Regions from separate parts of the Homo sapiens genome. Here regions 1 and 2 are each linked to region 3. The links are contacts of gene promoters, found by promoter capture Hi-C in blood cells and fetal thymus (Javierre and others, 2016). All regions are on one chromosome and are shown on one strand. Each heading gives the region's core, a stretch centred on a gene start or on the middle of the fragment in contact. The rest is flanking DNA. Distances are from core to core; before and after follow the strand shown. Region 1 overlaps ZBBX (zinc finger B-box domain containing). Region 2 has its middle 3.4 kb from the start of ZBBX. Region 3 holds the start of WDR49 (WD repeat domain 49).

Evidence for each region. Contacts are between HindIII fragments. The CHiCAGO score rates a contact against its expected background, and 5 or more counts as called.
Region 1: a contact is called between a fragment that was not itself captured here and the fragment with the promoter of WDR49 in region 3, in 1 of 17 cell types (monocytes). The highest score is 6.9, in monocytes.
Region 2: a fragment that was not itself captured here is called in contact with the fragment with the promoter of WDR49 in region 3 in 8 of 17 cell types (monocytes, naive B cells, M2 macrophages and 5 more); the score reaches 20.6 in monocytes.

What each region holds. Positions count from the first base shown.
Region 1 is chr3:167,360,508-167,365,114 of GRCh38, reverse strand. ZBBX (zinc finger B-box domain containing) reads left to right here. Exons shown (of 22, transcript NM_001199201.2): 7 at 4,392-4,440. Among named protein-coding and RNA genes, the nearest start is that of ZBBX, 17 kb to the left of the region's middle. The HindIII fragment of the contact is 2,421 bases long and covers 363-2,783 here.
Region 2 is chr3:167,381,585-167,385,766 of GRCh38, reverse strand. It overlaps a transcript of ZBBX not described here. Among named protein-coding and RNA genes, the nearest start is that of ZBBX, 3.4 kb to the right of the region's middle. The HindIII fragment of the contact is 2,300 bases long and covers 868-3,167 here.
Region 3 is chr3:167,651,307-167,655,881 of GRCh38, reverse strand. WDR49 (WD repeat domain 49) reads left to right here and starts at 1,940. Exons shown (of 19, transcript NM_001366157.1): 1 at 1,940-2,048; 2 at 2,383-2,621. The coding sequence starts at 2,457. RefSeq lists enhancers at 1,680-2,202, 2,203-2,726. The HindIII fragment of the contact is 616 bases long and covers 1,533-2,148 here.

The DNA.
Region 1 (4,607 bases), core at 324-2,823, 290 kb after region 3:
TCAATTATAAAAGTTTTGACCCCAACGTTTAAAAAAAACTTATCTCACTAGAAACAGGCTATTTGTAAGACTATTAAAATAATCTAGAGGTCAGATGAAAGGAGGCTGAATTAAAAGGGTAGGAAAACATATATAAAGAAAAATATGGAACCATAAAACAGTGAGAAAGGAGAGGAGGAAGTCAAACATATAATTGATATTACAGGCTGGATTGACTAAGAGACAGCATAAAGAAAGGACTTAGAAAAGTACGGGGTATACATTTAGAGTTTTGTTTGAATTTTCAAGTGATAGTTGAAGTTAAGGGAGTAAATGTACTCCCTAGGATTTGTAAAACATAGAGAGGTGTAAAGAATAAAGCTTAAAGAAAGCCAGTGTGTAAACTATATTGGCAAAGAGAACTTTAATATTCACTCAATAAGCTCAATAAGTTTTAATACCAGTCAACAGTTTCGCTTCTTTTCCTTTCTTATCTCATTAAGTGCTTATATCACTCCTAAGAGGATGTTATTATTATTCCAGTTTCACAGATGAAATAACTTAATATAAAAAAAAACTAAATAACTCACTCAAGGTCAAAAGTCAGGGCCAAGATTTGACATGTAAGCTCTCAGGCTTGTCTAAGATAATTTGCCAGCTCTCTAGTGAAGAGAGATTGAGAAGAAAAAGAATGGCGAAGTAAAATCGAAGTAGTTCAATGTTATAAGGACGAAAGTAAAGGAGAACATTTTTGGAAAATATGAAGTCAATAATGTCCAATATATTGTGTAGTGAAAAAAGTTTTGAGTATCTATTTAGACTAGTGTTTCTGAAGGGGGCAATTTTGCTTCCCAGGAGACATTTGACAAAGTCTGGAGACATTTTCAGTTGTTAACATTGAGAGGTATATTTTTGTTGTTGTTGTTGTTTTTGCGTATTTTTTTTTTTTGCTAAAGATATATAGTGAGTAAGGGCCAGGGGTGCTGCTAAACATCCTACAATGCACTTGACAATCCCCACAACAAAGAATTATTCGGCCCCAAATGTCAGTGATGCTGAGGTCTAGAAACTCTGTATTAGATTATATAGATTAACATTCACTTAACCTTTCCAAGCCTCTATTACTACACTTGTAAACTTGCATAATAATACCTACTAACCACTTCAAAGAGCTTTTGAGCAATGTCAAAAACTCTTGAAATATGTGAAACCACTTTGTAATGATACCTAAACATTACATTAAAATGTCTATTTCTGGATAATGAAAATATTTAAAAGACCTAAATTTGATGATTGTGTCAATATTAAATAAGAGAGTAGATTTCAATTGGTTGAAAAGAAAACGGTGGGAAGCAATGAGTAAAGACTATTGTTGCAGCCAGCATGAAAGCAGTTGGTGACCTTTCAAGGGTTTAATAGAATCAAGGAAAGACTTTATTATATTCTTTTCTAGAATTGTCAAGATGATGTGGGCCAGTTTGTAGAATGAAAGATGGACATCCTAGTAGAGGAAAGAGTCAAAATGTAGATGAAAGAGGTGCCAGTTGCTGGGTGTGTGGTCTTTGAAGAGGTAGTCCATTAAAGAGGCCTTCACCAAGGAAAGGAAGACATATTTTTTGTGTGTGTGTGAGACAAGAAAGGTGGAAGAAAAAACAGGTGGCAATGAAAATAAATTTTAGAGATTGTTTTTGACAAGTGGTGAGGTGGGACACTGAAAGATTTTAATGGGAAGACCTCAACTTTCTTAGGACAGTTGAAGACAATATCGTCTGCTCAGGTGAATTAAGGGAAATGGGATGAATTTGAGTTCTTGGGAATGAAGAGGTTTGGAGTAGCCACTGTGGGAATTGTGGTTGGGGATTAGCAGCAAATGAGTAAATGGATTGCCAAAGAGCCATATAGCCCATTGAGGCTGATCAGCATGGATTTGTAGGAGGCTCTATAGTATTATTTTTATCACAGTGGTACATAGATATTGGAGGCATCAGAAGGAAGAGATAAGGTGATTGAGGTTGGCACTGAAAAACTTTAGAGTCTGAGATTTTGAAGGTGTGGCTATTCAGAATGCTGCTTACATGCCAGATTTGGTTATAATGGTGAGGTGGCTGAAGAGGCATTTAGATGTTCACAGTAGCCAGCATGTTGGAGGGTCTTCAAACCAGGATGTCAGGTGAACATGTGCATTGAAGTCTCTAAGACTGTCAAGCAGAAATGTGATGGAGAGAAATACCGAGCAGGTTGCTGAAGTTCAGGTGGAAGAGACCCTAGATATTGACACAAGCAATAAGTGGATGGTGGGGACCTATAGTAGAGGCACCTTTGCTGAATCATGATAGCACAATAATATTCTGGAAACAGCACTGAAGAGCAAATAGAAAAATTTTCTCTTTCCTGGTATGTGAAAGGAAGTGGAAAGGGGCTAGGTCCTGTGGGAAGTGCTTTGGTGAAGATTGTGTCTAAGCAAAGGTGGCTTTCAGTTGATGTAAACTTTTGATGAAACATTTTTGGGAAAGGTTTAAAGCATAAGATACATAAATGACTATTTAATAGAAGATCCACGGAATGGCAGTGGGGGCTTGGAAGGAAGGACAATTAGTACAGAATTGCGAAGTTTCAGTAGCTAACTGGGTTGACAGTGAGAACGTCTGAAAGATGACTGTAGGAGAAGTTTGGGCTCAGTGTGGCAGATGAAGGCATTGGTGGGAGTTCGGAGGTATTTGTGAATGCCAGGGAGGCTGATGATGACAGCATATTCTGACCCCAGTGGCATAGATAATATGTCTGTGTGGTAAATCCACTAAGCTTTCCTGGCCCCTGATAGCACCCCTTCAATACCTACTGGTGGAGGAGTCAGCATGTTAATAAGGCATAGGCTTTAGTATATTAAGTTCCTGACATTTGTATATACAAACATATGCAGATATCCATCTTTCTATCTATATGTATATATACATATGCATGTATTATATATGTATATGTACATGCGCATATATGTGTATATGTGTGTTTGTGTAAGCATGTGTATCCTTGGTTCAACCCTACCTCCAACCCTTTCCCTAACAGATAAAAATCAGACCTATGAGGAAATTCTATTTGTCTAAAAATAGCAGCTAGAGGTTTGTTCACTGAAATATTTTTATGCAGTTTGAATCACTTGAAATAAATATGGCTGTATTCATAGAGCAGAACAATATTATTCATAATAATAAAAACAAATTATACAATTTCCCTAATAATGGGTTCATTTTGCTTGGGCATATCTATCCATTCCATCCAGGGTAGCCTACAACCACACTGATCATGTTTCAATTCAGATGTATCATTAAGGTAGTCATACTGGATAATTTGGTTATGAAAAATGAGATTAGATTATCTGTAACTTGTATAACATTAGCAATTTAAAAATAAAAGTGTGGTTCATAGAAAAATTGATGATTTCAATCTTATTTTCTTTTCTGCTGTGTTTAGTACATAGCATCTGAGCAGTTACTTTGAAGAATGTGAAAAATAACTGCCCCTTTGAAGCAAAACCACTAGATTCACTGAGAATAATTAGGCCTACATTTTCAGATGACTGCAGTTGCTACAGCCATAGATATAGAGGCAGTCATTGTTCTCAGATTCTCATGTACAAATTGAGCAATTGAGCATGCAAATTGCAAATTGAAAACTAGGCCTGAATTGACAGTATCTATATAAATGCACACCATCCTTCATTCTCGTTTGTGTACTTTAAATGTTGGTTTTAATAAGATCAAGGCAAGCATGTTCAATTGGCAAGAGTATTTTACTTCCTAAAATATTAAAATCCCAAAATTTTAAGTGATGATTTATTTGAAATATCTAGCAGTGAATCTTATTTATTCATTTTTTTTGGCTAATATTTAGGAAAGTCAGTGATCACAAATAATACTTTTGAAGGATAAGTCTGTGATGCTTACACATGCAGTTCTCTAAATTGGGCAAATAAAATAATATGGGTTTCTATAGTAGTGTAAGCAGAATAGCTTAGTCACAATTCAGTTTAGATTCAGCTTACACAAATATTAGACTGTGTGTCTCAGAAAGAGCAGAAATAGAAAAGATGTATTAAACCTTTACAATATTTGAATACTAGCAAATAATTTCATAATGAGATATAATGGTTTTTGTTTAAAAGCCAAATTATGTTTTCAAAAACTGGTTTAGATATATTTTTAAAATTTATTTTCTTTTTTATGAATTTCTATTAGATTAATTAAAAGGTACATATATGCTTTAATGATGATCTCCTATTAATTTTATATTATTCTTTAAAAATAAATTTTTGTTCGAAAAGCACCAAAGCTACAGCTTTCTAATATTTTTGTTGGCAACTTTCGTTGAATAAGATAATATATACCTGACAAATAGTATCTATTTTATTAATACAGTTTTCTGCTGGAAAAGTGAAATTAAAATTGCTGAAGGAACAGATTCAAGGTAAATAATTTATCACCATGTTAATAAATGCTAAAGACATCCCTTTCTTTTACATTGTAATTACAAATAAAGTTAAAGTTTTAGAATTGTCCGGGCAGTATAAAGATTCTAAACCCCCAAATCATGACACATTGATTTTCAACATAAATTTTATTCGGGTGGTTAGG
Region 2 (4,182 bases), core at 768-3,267, 270 kb after region 3:
CCTGGGGATGTCTTGATGATCCTGACTCTGTGTAGGGCTTGGGTAATACATGTGTTTGTGTCTTAGTTTTTAACAAAAACAGTTTTAAAATTAGAAGGAATAAATAGAAAAAGGCTTATAGATAAGTATATAAGGAAAAAAAATTTTGTGTACATCTGTACGATGTGTTTGTTTTGAGTTGTCATTACAAAAGGGTCAAAAAGTTTAAAAAAATTATAAGTTTATAAAGTAAAGTTACAGGAAGGTAAGGCTAATTTATATTAAAAGAATGAAATTTTTAAAAAAAATTTAGGGTAGCCTAAGTTTATAGTGTTTATAAAGTCTATAGTACCTACTCACTCATCCAAAGCAACTTCCAGTTCTGCCAACTCTAATTACGGTAAGTGCCCTATATAGGTATTCCATTTTTTTTGTCTTTTATACTGCATTTTGGCAGTCCTTTTTCTGTGTTTACATATGCTTAGATACACAAATACTGACCATTGTGTTAGAGTTGTGTATAGTATTCAGTACAGTAGCATGCTATAAGGGCTTATAGTCTAGAAGCAATAGGCTATACCAAATAGCCTAGGTGTATAACATCTAGGTTTGTGTCAGTTCACTCTTTGATGTTTGTACAATGACAAAATAACCTAATCACATATTTCTTAGAACATATCCTCATCATTAAGAGACACATGATTGTATTAAATTGAGGTTATAGTGAAAATAATGTTATTTATGTTCAAATAAAGTGTTCTGTTTTTTGAAACTGACTTTCTAAAGACTCCATCATGTGAATTGTGTCTTCACCTTCTCTGGACCCATATATACACCAACAATTTAAAAAGTTTTGTATTAGGAATGTTGATATTGGCAATGCAAGCTTCAATGACCAGTGCTAGTTCTTCTTTTTTACCAGCTGATGTAGTGCATGCTTGTCTGCAGTAAATGCATGAGAACACTGAGAAGAATAGATGATTACAGGAATAAATTCATTCAGGTTGCCAACCTCATTTGCAGAGACCCTGCAGTAAAAACACTGCTGGATAAAGAAGGTCACATATGGGTTTTATATTGGTCTATTTTAGGAATGCTGAATGAATGCCTCTCTCAATACTATGTCTTCTGTAGTTTCTCCGAGAAATCCTTGGACAATTTAAACTTTTCCTTCAGCTCTGGTTACTATCTGATTACATGCTGATGGTAACCTAATATATATGGTTGTCTCCTAAGTAACTAGAGCTATGTCATATTTTTGTATTCCTCCCTACTGCTATTGCAAAAGTAAAAACTCAGTCTGCCCTGCCTTCTTGACCCCACTCTCTGTGAGCTTATTTATTCTCTTGCTCTTCCACGGCTGGTTATCAGTACCATCTACTTATTTACCAAGCTATCAAATGTAGAGACAAGCAGCTCTGTTCCATATTCCTAGCTAACCATGTATCTGTACTTTCCAAGCCCTATTGAGAGTTTACAAAATCCTTTGAAACTGTTTCACTTGGCCTCTGCCCTCTGCCTTGATTTATTCAAGACTTATTATTTCTATCTTGGACTAATATAACCATATTTTAAAAGTGTCTCTTGTCCTCCTCTTTTCCACTTGCTCTATTTTTACATTGCCACCAGAATTACCCTTGAAAGATGCGGCTATACACATACTGAGATGCTTAAAGATCTGCTTTAAAAATTATTTGAGGGTATTAAGAGGAGAGAAGAAAAGAAAATTTCACAGTTTCCATTGTGAATAGGGTAACATTCAAAGTGCTTTTTAATGTGCTCCTAGCACAACTTTTCATTCTTATCTTTTTGCCACATATACTATGTTTGAACCAACTAGAAATTCTGCCCATGCCACAAACATGTAATGCTCCCATTCTTTTTGAACGTAGTACTTAATACATTACATATTAATTAGTTGCAAACTCTCACTTGAATTACTCAAGGACAGAGACGGTGTCTTTGTTCACCTTTGTACCTATCTTAGGGCCGTGCCTGGAATAGAACAGGTGTTGAATAAATGTTGATTAAATTTAACTATGCTCATTCAACAAGGCTATACATTTATTTTTCAATTTGGAAGACACTGCACATTGCAGGAATCGAAAATTTATCATAGGCCCTGATGATTCTCCTCCATTTGTGAAGCATCAGTAATAATTGCCTTGTGTTATGAAAATTTATTTGCTTAGAAATTCTGTGTCATGGATGATAGGCAGAAATTACAAAGCCGAGAAAAATTATAAAAGGCCAATGTCACCTCTTAACTCTAAGTTTCTTTTTATTCTTCCTCAAGTTTAGCCATTCGGATGCATTTAAATATATTTATATCATACTAATTTGGTTTTTGCTAAGGATTTTTTGTAATTTTATGTTGTCTCTAAAGCTCAGTTTTCTTGACAAGTTGAAAAACCCCATACATATGTAATAGGATGTTATATTTAGCATTTACCAAGGCATAAAGAAAGTAGATGCTTCATGTAAAAGTAAAACCACATTTCAGGGCTTGTAAAAAAGGAGATGGTAGGAATTTGGTTTTGCTACCTTGAAATGCCCACAAACTTTTGCCTATAAAAGAATCTGAAGGGCCAAAGAGCAAATGGAAATTGAGAGAATACTTCTGGAAAGCTGCAGATATGATATTTGTCCCATTTTCTTCCAAAGGTTTGGTATTATCAAAATATAATTGCAATACTTAAAAACAAGATATTCTTTAAGTAGAGAATATACATGTGATACAGTTTAATTCATTAAGGACGGAATTATTAGAATGGTAAAGCTGGTTCAAAGAAAATTTGGTAGCTGACTGTATATAGGAATTGAGATAAAATATTAGTATGAGATTTCTAGGTTAGATACAAAACTGGTTAAAGTTGTATAGTGCAATAAAACCATTAGCTTTGAAATTATTTTATTTAAAGGAAAGACATTATTTACATATCCAGATACAAATGATATGAAAAATGCAGGTGAAAAAATCTTCAAATAAACATACAACATTACACAGAGACTTTATCAATAGTTAATGATAAGAAAAGCAACACTTTTTTTTAGAAAATCATGTAATGCTCAGATTATCTTAAACAGTATTCTAGTATGGCATTGAAAAGACATGCTGTTTTTGGCTTTACCTTATTTCTAAGTTTTGGATAATGCTTGTTTACAGTCCCTGACCCTTATTTCAAGCTTAGTAAAATGAGTCATGTAAATCTGTGCTCTTAATTTCTGCATTGCCGGTAATTTTTATCTCTTTAAATTGAATATCTCCAGTTCAGAAAACTTGTATTCAAACCTTGTCTCCACTGTGGCACAAAGAAGCATGAGTTTGGAAAAACCCTCAGGAATACTGTGCTCTTGATATAGTTGTGGTAAACTGTGTGCGGCATTGCTGGTGTGCCAGTTAAACGCATTTTACTTCAGTGGAGAGAATATCATCTCTCTAGAGCTGTAATTGTTTTGACATGTTTCATTTCATTTTGTCACTAATCATCATTCTGAAAGACAAGCACTTCATACTTTTTATTTTACTATGTGACTTAGCATAGGCTTAGTTTTTGTCTCTGCTTTGCCTTTTCATAACTGTGCATAAGCTATTTTTCTAAATATAAGATAATGTTCTTTTAATGCTTTCAAAAAGTGCAAGAATACTTTATACATTATTTTTATGAGTTTAATTTTACTATTGTGTAAGTAAATGCATTGTAAGAATCATTTTTTGGAGTAAAAGTCCTTTGTAGAAGTGAGGAGAAGTTATTTGCAAAATAATCTTTACTGGGACATAATTGACATGTGTTTACTGTTCTCTCTGGACTGTTTCTTCCTCTAGTGGCCCATGTCTTTCTCTTTCCTTGCATTCAGATACTTCCCTGGCCATCTACCCTAAAACAGAACTCAATTAGTTTCTATTTCTTTATTTGGCTTTAGTTTTCTTCATAGCAGCTGACATGCATTTATACTTGTTTATTGCCTTTCTGCTCCTGTTAAAATATATTTGAAAATAGGAGGGGCTTTGACGATTTCTTCACTCCAGTATTTTTGGGATCTAGGAAATGGACTTTCAATAAATATTTGTGGAATAAATAAATAAATGAATAGATCAGTAAATGGACGAAAGCTGAAAATATCTTTGGTAATTTGAAGAGCGCGCCTGTATGGGAAATAGTCTGTGCAAGAAAACCAGTAGTATCGCACATCCACCTGAAA
Region 3 (4,575 bases), core at 691-3,190:
CTGTCACTCAGGCTGGAGGGCAGTGGCGTGATCTTGGCTCACTGCAACCTCCGCCTCCCAGGTTCAAGCGATTCTCCTGCCTCAGCCTCCCAAGTAGCTGGGATTACAGGCGCCTGCCACCATGCCCAGCTAATTTTTATATTTTTAGTAGAGACGGGGTTCCTCCATGTTGGCCAGGCTGGTCTTGAACTCCTGACCTCAAGTGATCTGCCTGTCTTGGCTTCCCAAAATATGGAATTACAGGCATGAGCCACCGTGCCCTGCCTATTAGGCTCTTAATAAATGTTTTTTTTGAAAGAATAATGAGAGATGGATGAAAAAATGAAAGCATGAATGAAACTTCATTTTTTTCTATAATGGGTACAGGAACTCCTACAGGATGCTCTTCTCTCTGTTCTGTACCATGCCTCTAGTGAACACCAGCTCAGAGAATGTTAGAGCCGGAAGAGACCCTAGAGAAGATGTAATGCCAACTTTTTAGTTTACAGAAGTGAAAATAAAGTGCAACGGGCACATCCATCTAAAGTGCAGTGATACAGTTGGGCAGTGTCCCCACCCAAATCTCACCTTGAATTGTAATAATCCTCACATGACAAGGGCGTGGCCAGGTGGAGATAATTGACTCAAGGGGGCGGTTTCCCCATACTGTTCTCCTGGTAGTGAATAAGTCTCATGAGATCTGATGGTTTTATAAATGGGAGTTACCCTGCACATGCTGTCTTGCCTACTGCCATGTAAGTCATGACTTTGCCCTCATTAGCTTTCTGTCATGATTTTGAGGCCTCCCCAGCCATGTGAAATTATGAGTCAATTAAACCTCTTTCCTTTATAAATTACCCAGTCTCAGGTATGTCTTCATTAGCAGTGTGAAAACAGACTAATACATGCAGTATCTGAAGTTTGGGAGCCATTCTGTTCTCTTCCGTATGTTACTATTTGTGTGACCTTTGGCATTTTCTTTGCTTTTTTTTTTTTTCTTTTTTGAGACAGGGTCTCATTCTGTTGCCCAGGCTGGAGTGCAGTGGCACAATCTTGGCTCACTGCAACCTCTGCCCCCCAGGTTCAAGGGATCCTTCTAACTCAGCCTCCCGAGTAGCTGGGATCACAGGTGTGCGCCACCATGCTCGGCTGATTATTTTTGTATTTTTACTAGATACAATGTCTCGTCATGTTGCCCAGGCTGCTCTCGAACTCCTGAGCTGAAGCCATCCACCTGCCTCAGCCTCCCAAAGTGCAGGGATTACAGGCGTGAGCCACCTTGCCCGGCTTTTTGCTTCTTTATCAGTAAAATGGGGATAATGATCACATCTGCCTTGTAGGATTGTTGTGAAGCTTAAACAAGACAATGAACATAAAGTTTTAGTGCCTGGCACATGGTTAATACTCAAAAAATGTTAATTTTTCTTCTTTTTCTCCTCCTTTTCATTATTATTAGCTGAACCAGTAATGACACTGCAAGCAATTTTATCATTAGATTTATCATATTATGTTATGCTGTGTTTTTTTATCACATTTTCAACAAGTTGGAAGCTTTTTTGAACCATCTCTATTTTATATACATAGAAACTAAGACAAAAAGAATATAAGAAACAGATTCCTTTTATATAAAAATAAAACATTTTCTGTGTATAAAACATAAAATTCCAGAATTTCATGCTTTTCTCTTTGACTAATCATATAGTTTCATAATATATATCCTATATAATGGTAAAAGTTGTCTTTAAATAATACAAGATGTCGTTTAATAAAAAATGAGTGGAATGAACTGTCCTTTTATTTCAAAAAAAACCATTTCAACATTTACATTATATATTTAAACTTTCAGTTGGAGAGGGGGAAGTGAAAGGGAAAGTTTTAGTTGGCTTTGTGTTGGTTGCCAGGAAACATACAAAAGGATCAGAACAGATGAAACAAACAACTCCACATTGCTGGGAAGGTGGCATTCAGAGTCAAGTACTTCATTGGTAGGGAAACTCTGCAGCTTTGTCATCTAACTCTTCCAGACAAGAAAGTGGAATTGAAAACTACAACATGTTAATGGAAGCAAGGTTAGTTAAAGAGATTTTTGGGAAGGTGCTTTTCTAATGCATTTAAAATGAGGATTGGAAGTTGTTTTCTGTGTCAGTTACTATAAATGTGGGGAAAGCTTTACACATTTTTAATCAAGCCAGGTTAAACAGAGTATAAGGAAGGGGTAAAAATACCATTTTAAAAGCATTCAACTGTAAATTTTGAAAATAAACTCTAGAATCAAATAAGTGAGAGGGTTGAGGGCTTTCATTTCCTACCTCAGCTTGAACATTTTGCCTCCTGATCGTATGCCTTGAAAGGTTTGTACTTTCATTTTGGAATTCTGTTGCTAAGTTGAGTTTCTTTTCAAAGGCACCTGTTGAAGGAAAAAGAAGATCCATCCTTATAGAAATAGTTGAAGGCAACTGAGAAAAGGTGAAGCCATTATGAGTTGCCAGAAAGCTGTACTTGAGTTAAACATAGGGTCACAGCTTGGGCCAAAGAGTCCTGAGAGAACAGAAGGTGTAACTGCATTTGAAGACTATGGCACAGGCCTGCTTGAAAACCAACTCAGCGTGGGTGACTTTGTAAAAATACAGAAGGCCTTTGAGGTAAGTGTGAAGCTTATTGACCAGATAGTTTGAGTTGTTCATGAAGGAGCCTAGAATGAAACACAGAGATATTTTTCTTTAAGCATTAAAAAAATACACTTAATTGTTATAGCAGAGAATTAAAAATAATTGGTTAGGCCTGGATTTAACACAATGTGCTTGGTAGCTTTGCCCCTCAGTTCTTTGGGCCAAATAATATTCTTTAGTTTGAAATTGCTTCACTGAATTTCATTACTATCAAGAAAGAACTATTTATTGTTGGAAAAAATTTTTTTCTTAGAGATCAACATATTTTGGGGAAACAAAAAATTATGGCTGTGAGTGAAGAAAGCCAGATCTCTAAGGTGACCTCCAGGAATAATTGTTCTTGCATTTAATACGGACATAGAACTCAGCAAATGCAAATATGCATACCCAGTTTGCAAAAAATTTCCTCCTGTCTCACTCACCCTAAGTGGCACAGCTCCTTTTCTAAGCTGATTCTGGCACTTTGTTGTCCCAAGATCCCTTATGAGGGACGAGTCTCCCACTCATTTTGTAAATCCTGGAACAATGCCAATAAAAACAAAATTAGAATTTTTCATTTTAACTCTGCATAAAAAATAAACCATAGGAATTTAACTGTAAATGAATAATTTTCTTCTCTCTTAGTCAATGAATTTTGAATTCTGCAGCTATGCATAATGAACAGCATACATCAAAGTGGTTTTTAGTTTCAAATATGGGTAGAAAGAAGTGCTCTTCCATGACGTAGAATTTAGGTAGTCATGAGCCTCCAACATTTCTACTATATTATGTTTACTAAAGTATGATCTAGGGCCTTCTTAAGATTGTCCGTGGGTGCTTGGAGTATCCATACTAATTTGAAATAGAAAATATTTTGGAATACCACCTGGAAATTAATAAAATATAATAAAAGCTCACAATATATTAGCCTGTAATAGGCACACATTTTTATCTTTGGATATCCACAAAAGAATATAACAAGTTGGGTTCCACCTGTATTGATAAATTAATGTCCCAATAGTATCAATCATTTCTTTATAATAGAACTTATCATATTTAGTAGCAAGACATGCTCTGTCCTACACTTTTCTCATTTCAACCTTCATATATTTGCTATTCAACCAACCTCATTTGTCTGAAAGATTTCACTGCTGCTGCTCATGCCCAGTGCCCCAAGTAAATTTAGCATATTTTGATAGACATAGCAAACATTTTGACAGCTTGAGGACATTCAGTAAAACATAACAGCAGATTATGACAGCTTTGACTCTATAGTGAACAGAAATGTGGCAGTTTTGTTCCGGTGCTAAGAACACAAAGAATTTGAATGCTAGGGCCTATTAGGAGAGTCTACATTATAAAGTTGATGTGTTGGTGAAACTGCTTCAGAAGGTTAGAGGTGGGTGTTCTTTCCAAACTGCAGATTAGTCTTGAATGAACCCAAGTGAAACTGGAAAATTCAACCTCAAGTTTTAATTTATTTCTATTTTATGTTAAATATTTCAAAGGCCAGACCACTTATTTTGACATTACCGGTTGGAAAAGCAGGAACTAATGGACCAAAGAGGAGAAGAGAAGGTAATTCGGAGCTTGTATGAACATAGACAGTTTTTCTAAAAAAGAAATTGAGCTTTGCAGGTGTACCTTCAAAAAAAAAAAATGAAGTTCATCCATTTTAGCAGACTCAACAGCCAGAGAATGGAATAATCCCATGGCACATGTGCAGCCAGTACTAAAAGTTAGACCTTTGAGCCAACATGATTTCCAAACACAGCACGGACACCTAAAGAAGAATGATGCACTAGATGACTTTAATGGTATCCAGTCCATCTGTCATGAGTTTTAGGCCCAGAGGCCACAGGTATAGATTGCTGTAAAAGGATAAAATGCCCTCAATAGCATTCCTGCAACTTTGAACTCTAAAGGCAGTGATTTGTGGTCCAGTTAC